Regions from separate parts of the Homo sapiens genome. Here region 1 is linked to region 2. The links are contacts of gene promoters, found by promoter capture Hi-C in blood cells and fetal thymus (Javierre and others, 2016). All regions are on one chromosome and are shown on one strand. Each heading gives the region's core, a stretch centred on a gene start or on the middle of the fragment in contact. The rest is flanking DNA. Distances are from core to core; before and after follow the strand shown.

The links. Contacts are between HindIII fragments. The CHiCAGO score rates a contact against its expected background, and 5 or more counts as called.
Region 1: a contact is called between a fragment that was not itself captured here and the fragment with the promoter of UGT1A4 in region 2, in 1 of 17 cell types (endothelial precursors). The highest score is 5.7, in endothelial precursors.

The regions. Positions count from the first base shown.
Region 1 is chr2:233,462,098-233,465,882 of GRCh38, reverse strand. DGKD (diacylglycerol kinase delta) reads right to left here. Exons shown (of 30, transcript NM_152879.3): 25 at 3,424-3,535; 26 at 3,148-3,240; 27 at 1,600-1,719. Among named protein-coding and RNA genes, the nearest start is that of USP40, 100 kb to the left of the region's middle. The HindIII fragment of the contact is 4,289 bases long and covers 1-3,704 here.
Region 2 is chr2:233,717,127-233,720,435 of GRCh38, reverse strand. It overlaps UGT1A4 (UDP glucuronosyltransferase family 1 member A4), which reads right to left and starts at 1,700. Exons shown (of 5, transcript NM_007120.3): 1 at 749-1,700. The coding sequence starts at 1,615. The region is part of intron 1 of UGT1A8 (UDP glucuronosyltransferase family 1 member A8); the gene reads right to left. All of the region lies in intron 1 of UGT1A10 (UDP glucuronosyltransferase family 1 member A10), which reads right to left. The region is part of intron 1 of UGT1A9 (UDP glucuronosyltransferase family 1 member A9); the gene reads right to left. It also overlaps UGT1A7, UGT1A6, UGT1A5 and UGT1A. The HindIII fragment of the contact is 5,069 bases long and covers 1-3,309 here.

The sequences.
Region 1 (3,785 bases), core at 311-2,810, 250 kb after region 2:
TTTCTGTATCATAAATTTTTATTAGGAGTATGAGAAAAAAAAACAGGGCTCTTGTGAGCAATATATGGTTAGGTTTCTTTTAAAACACAACCTAAGAATTTACTTTTAAGAGAAAGCCATGTCATTTTTCTGTTATCTTATTTTCATGCTGTTAGCGATACCCTTGCTGGTCCTTTACTTTCTTTTACAATATAAATTGTATTTTATTTTTGTCCTTGGTGGCAATTTGGAAGATATAAATCTTTTCAGCTCTATTAGAAATTACCTTTAAGTTTAAAAAAAAATTTTTTTTTAATAGAGACAGGGTCTCACTATGTTGCCGAGCCTGGTCTTGAACTCCTCGGCTAACGTGATCCTCCCACCTTGGCCTTCCAAAGTGCTGGGATTACAGGTGCGAGCCACCACTCTTGACCCTAAAAACATTATTGACTCTGTATTTCTCCAAGTATGAAAGTCAAGAATGTTGTTTGTAACGTTCTTCCACTGTAAGAGGAGGAATTTAACATGCTTTCCTCCCCCCGTCCATGTCCTCTTCCCAGCCTCTCACCTCACTGCCCACTTTACTGGCCTTAATTTAATCTGGTATTATAGGGCTATGTCACTGTGACATCTGTTGAATCATTGTATATTATTATTTTTGTAATTTTGGGTAAAATTTCTTAATCACCTTTACAATGAATTATTTAATGGATTTTGAGGAGCTTGCCCTGTCCTTTTATACCCAAGTGCCCTCACTGAGAAGCTGCTGAGTTTCATCCATCGGCTGGAGTGCCTGAGTCAGTTTCCCATGAAAGGATTGCATGCGTCAAAAAACGCCCCAGGGCCCCGGAAAGAGGGTGCTGTTGTGCAGCTGCCCACCTCTGTCCCCTCGCCTTACTGCTGCCCACAGGTCTCACAAACCCCACTGGGCAGGGGTGCCCAGGTTTGGCGTCTTGCAGTTATTTGCCTTCTGCAACTGTACTGCCCAAGATGAGCTTTCCTCAGGGCCCCTCTGTGTTCTATCTCTGAAGCAGGGAAGCCAAGAGACAGGCTGGGGTTTGTCCTTGTCCAGACACGGCCCTCTCCAGGGCTCCTTCAGCCAGCACTCCCTGCAGAAGAATGTGACTCCACCCCAGGGTCCGCTATGCCCTGCGTCCTCGGGTCCCTCCCAGACCTGCGACGAGCTGGAGTCTTTCTGTTCACACAGGAAGAGAGTGTGAGTGGGGAGTGGCGCACACCAACTGCGCCCTGTCCACAGCGGGATCCCAAAAGGCTGCCATTTATCCCATGATACATCTCCACCCTCGGGGGAGGCTGTGGGGCTGGGCTCAGCCTTCCTTCTACCCACTGTCCAGGAAGCCCTGCAGTTCTGTTTCAGAGGACAACAGGTCCCTGGTCCTCAAGGGGCACTCTTAATCCCAGCCCAGAACTCCTTCCTACCTGCTGTCCCTCCCTGCCTTAAAGAGCATTTTAATAGCGAAGTCTGGAGAAGGCCCCTCAGGGGCTGCCGGAGCGACACGATCTTGATCCCAGAGCCACACGGGTCACAAGGAACACAGGCACTTCAGGCGAGAGCCACCATGTCCGGGAGACCCAGGCACAGCCCTATGAGCCACATACCTCTTCGTCGCCGGGCTCTGCGGACTGGCAGAGCCACGGGGTGTCTGCCAGCCTCCTGAGCTGTCGGTCCATCTCGGCAAGAGCACTCCCCAGCTGCTCCTTCTGAGGCGGATCCAGCTGCTGCTCCAGGCGGAGGGAGGGAGAGAGAAATGGAGAGTGTGCACTGCTGATCAGCGCGAGGCCCAGGGGGGTGAGGTCCGCTCCAGGGCTCTGCTCTGCTCTGATCAGGGAGCTCACTTTCCAGAAACGAAGTCCCAGAGCACCAGAAAAGGAACCAAACCCAGAACCTCACTTTCTAAGTAGTGCTGGTGAGAGAATAAAACTGTCCATCAGTCAACGATGAATTCACATAGAGCAAGGCTGACAACTGACCTGCTTGTGTCCCTCTGTCAGAAATGGGGTCGGAGCCATTCACCTGTGTCAAGCAGTGGAAATGCTGTGGGAAGCAAAGTCAGCAGTCGAACCTTGCAGGAGGCAGCAGGAGGTGTGCAGTGAGGACACGCGTGTGACCACGGGACGTGGGACGAGGGGAGGCATGGGATAAGGAGATGCGTAGAGTGAGGATTTCTGTGGAGTGAGGTGATGCGTGGAGTGAGGTGATGCGTGGAGTGAGGAGATGCGTGCAGTGAGGACATGCGTGGAGTGAGGAGATGCGTGGAGTGAGGAGATGCGTGGAGTGAGGAGATGCGTGGAGTGAGGAGATGCGTGGAGTGAGGAGATGCGTGGAGTGAGGAGATGCGTGGAGTGAGGAGATGCGTGGAGTGAGGACATGCGTGCAGTGAGGACATGCGTGCAGTGAGGACATGCGTGCAGTGAGGACATGCGTGGAGTGAGGAGATGCGTGGAGTGAGGAGATGCGTGGAGTGAGGAGATGCGTGGAGTGAGGAGATGTGTGGAGTGAGGAGATGTGTGGAGTGAGGTGATGTGTGGAGTGAGATGCGTGCAGTGAGGAGATGTGTGGAGTGAGGTGATGTGTGGAGTGAGGTGATGCGTGCAGTGAGGAGACGCGTGCAGTGAGGAGGTGAGTGGCGTGCGGAGTGGAGGGCTGGGAAACCACACCTGGGGCGGTTCTCCAGTTGCCCAATCTTTATCAAGCCCCTTCCTCCTCATCTTTAAAACCAGAAGGCTGGCCAGTCAGTCTCTCAGGCCTCTCCCTGTTCTAGCCCCTGTGATTCAGTAACAGCCCCACAGCTGCCATATCAGCCGGTTTTGCAGGGCTGAGCATGGAAGGTGCCTGAGAGTGTGGCCAGCTCTCGGCAGGAGCAGGACTCTGCACTACAGGCTTCTAAGGCAGAAAAGCATCTTCTGTCCACGACGACAAGGGTGTTTCCGCTGCAAGCGCTTCTCGCATGCTTGAGACAACCTGACTGAGGGGTTGCCAGCAGGGGTGGGCACCAGCCGCACAACAAACCAAATGACCTCTGCGGCCCATTCCTTAAGACCGGGAACTCTGGACTAAAGTGTGCTGCCCTGTGTGCCCAGCAACCTGGCGACAGCAGTCGTTTCACACACAGCCCGAGCCCTGCTGTCCCTGGGGCACCAGCTTACCAGGGCCATCTTCCCAGACAGCAGCAGCTCCGTCTCACTGCGCAGAGCTCTGAAGTTATTCACCATTTCCAGGACGAAGCTGCAGTTGAGCCCCTAGAAGAAACCAGGCAAATATGCATGGGGGCGGGGGGCCGAACATGCACGGTTAGGGGCAGGGAACAAGCACTGGGAGGGCCGAACATGCACCGGGGAGGCGGGGGAATGAACACGCACGGGGAGGGCCGAGGGCGGCAGACACTGAGAAGAAGCCAGGACTGAAAAGGCCAGAATAGCTACCTCTGTGGTTCTGGGCTTGCCATACACACGGTCCATGGACTTGGAGCTGGCATTGACGGCGTGGGCCAGTTCCTGCTCCATGTCCCGGTGAGACTGAGCTATTTCTCGGATACTAGAGAGGAAGAGAAGCACGGGCAGATGTCAGGCCAAATGGAAGGGCAGCCTTTCACAATACGCATCTGAACACGGCCCAGGTACCACCTGGAGGGCTGATGTGGAGGGCAGGCCCAGCAGGACGACAGGGATCGTGGCTCAGCCCAGCGACCGTTCAGTCACAAGCTTGGGCACAGGATGACCCACAGCAAATGGGAGGGCTTCCACGAGAAATCTGACGTCAAAATCCAAGATTTTCCAGGGAGAGA
Region 2 (3,309 bases), core at 451-2,950:
TTCACGGTCTTATCTCCTCCCTAGTCCCTTCCACCCACTCTTGATAATTTCAGCATTCCAAGTAGAAGACCCTTTTGACATGCAACCATCACCATACCTTCCAAACTCTACGATGTCCCCACATCATACACCAGACCCCCAACTCCTGGTCAGAAAAACTTTTCTCAGGACAGATCCCTCTCTGGAAACTGAACTCCATGTTTCATTCTCTGATCACATGCATCCATCCCACCTTCACAGCCCCACTTCCACTCAACTGAGTCAACCTCTTTGACACTTCTACTTCCTGTGAGTGCCTAGGTCTCCTGTGGTCACCTCTGTATCTTTCGCAAGATGGGACCACTAAAAATTATCATGTCCACAATTCTAATTTACTGTTGCATCACCGTTCAGCTGAAAATCAGGCAAGCAAAAACCCCAGGATGGATCAGTTCTGAATGTAGTGTCCCTGATCCTGCCGAGCTGAAGGACATGCACAACCATGAAGATGGTGCCTTTACAAACACTGTCCGTGAGTCACAGCAGTCCTTGTCCATCCTCTGACAGACCCTCATCCGTGCCTCTTCTTCCTCTCAGTGACCACTGAAAACTTGAAATACACTAGGCCCCTCAACAGTTTATCTGTTATAAAGAAGCCAAAATAAAATCTTTGGAAAGATAAGTAGATATGGAAGCACTTGTAAGTAAATACATTTTTTAAAAAGTGTTTTGCCTGGAACATTGATTGGATGAAGGCACCAATACAGACCTGAGATAGTGGCTTCCCGTTGGCACAGTTGATGCCCCCAATGAAGACCATGTTGGGCATGATCGGCCTGGGGTAGTCCATCACAAAGTCCCCTCGGAACAGCCACACGGATGCATAGCTGACAAGATCCACCACTGACACCTCTCTCTGAAAAAGCTCAGAGGCAAGACTTGCATAAGGGGCAGAAAAAGTATGGCAAATGTAGGACAGGGCCAGAGGGTAGAGCATGTTCTTGACCCTTTGCAGGAATGTCATGTGGTCTGAATTGGTCGTTAGTAACTTAGGAATATAGGAGGAAGGATTTGGACACTGTGTGCCCTTAAAGTCTAAGTCACATGGAATGTACCTCCAAAAAAACACAGCAGGAATCGACAGGTACTTAGCCAGCACCGCCCCACAGAGGTTAACGGGGTCTGTTAAAACCACATCAAAGGAAGTAGCATTCAGGTGCCTGATCAGGGCCTCATTATGCAGTAGCTCCACACAACACCTATGAAGGGCCAAAGATACATTGTTCATAATTGCCATACTTCTAGAATATCTCTTCAGAAGATGTTCTGTTTCAAAGAACCCTTGAGTGTAGCCCAGCGTAACGCGATCAAATTCCTTCTGGGTCCATGGAACAGCATAGGCTGTCAGGGTGAAAAATTTCTCTTCTTTGATGTGCATATTCACCTCTGGGGTGAGGACCACCGCCTGGTGGCCTCTGGCATGGAGCTCCCGCAAGGCCTCCCGCATGCTGAGCCAGGGGCTGCCATCAGTGGGCACCACCAACACCTTTCCACTCTCAGCCCAGGGCTGGACACTGAGGAGGAGCAGCAGTCCTGTGGCCAGCCGCGGCAGGGGAACCTGGAGTCCTCTGGCCATCTCAGCAGAAGCCACCGACAGCTGACTGTCCACCCCACGCTGTGCCTGCTACATTTGTTTCCTTCGCCTTAATTACCTTGTCATTGAGCCACCTAGCAAATCAGCATGTAATTGGAAGACAAAGTGCCCTCCTCCAGTTACTTATTACCCATTAATCTATAACTGCCTTTCGTTATGGGCCCAACCCTGGGAAAGACCAATCACGCCTATCTTGAAAAGCTCATCTGACCCTGTGCTGCCTCTGGGGAACATCCAAGTTCAAGCTCTTCTTTCTCATTCAATTCCCAACACAAGGCTGTGGACACCCATTTCATGTCACTGCCTTCTACTCTGTTAACCATATTTATCAGGCTGCAGCTGAGGTCTGAGGAGTCACCATTGCCCTAGTCCCCAACCACATGTTCTCTGCTGAATGTGACGCTATTTGCTAACCCTTGAAACTCTTTCTTCTCATATGTGAATAACACAGCACATCCAAAAGACATACAACATTGCTAAGCCAGCTTTCTCTAAACAGAGAGTGTTCAGGCTGGCTATCTGGTTTTGGTCTTTTTTCACACCAGGATATTTCTTGTAAAGCTCAAAGAGGACTCTCTCTGAAGTGGCTGTCAATATAAAAAAAAGCTCCGGGGAGGCTGAGCTCAAGATGTGATGATCATATTCTTGGGAAGGCTTTATTGAGGATTCTCCATCTACACCATGGAATAAGAGGTGCTGCTGTCTAAAGCACACATGGGCAAGACAACCCTAGCAAGGACCCACGGTGGGTTCAGGGAGCTCCTGCTCACCAAAGGACCTGGGGAGCTGGAGCCTGGCCTCAGATCTTGCACAGTCTGAATTCCTCTTCTGAATGCCAAAGGCTCCAGTCTTCTGCAAGTCTGCATAGAGACTGAAGTATCCATTCATCCAGGCCTTTATTTCATCCTGAAGATTATGGCCAGGCTTTTCTCCAAGTCAATCCAGCACCAAGTTCTGATAAGAATGGTTCCTCCAGAACAGAACGGGCTGCATAATTTGTGGGGGCACTACTTCAAATTTCAAAATGGAGAATTAAATGTGTGCCTTTCTAGGGGGAGACCCTGAGCACTCACAATGGTCTCATGCCCATGAGGCTCGTCCTGCTCCAGAAAGTCACTCCTACATGTGCTCGCAAGATTGCTGATGCTTCCTTGTCCTGGTCGCCCCAGGATGAGGTGGGCAGGCTCTCTGGGCTGTGCCCACTTTCCATCTCACTACCTCTGTGTCTACATGCCTGGCCATGTCTGCCATTGCTGGTGAGGCTGAGGCTTCCCTTATGGAGGAAGTTACTCCCATTAGAAATCCACATTGATAACAGATTCCACCTTTGGACACAACCCATGGGACAGGCAGTGAATGGATGCGTCCATCAGAGGGACACCCAGCTCAAGGGAGGCATATGCAGGATGGCACAGAGAGGGCAGGTCTGTAAGGGCTTGAGAACTCCCCAGGGGAGGACGATTTCTGGGGATTTGTGAGGACACAGAGTGCTAGAAAGGGATTCTCAGCTGTGGGTGCAACATCTCAGCTTCTCAACTATTCCTCCAACCCCCTTAAAACTGTCTGCATCTTAAGAACCCTCCTGATGAGCCCGGGGTGAGGGTGGAACATGCCTGGGAGGGTGCTCTTGCCACATTCAAGGGGCTCCCATGTTCTATTTCCATGTAGTGGTGTTC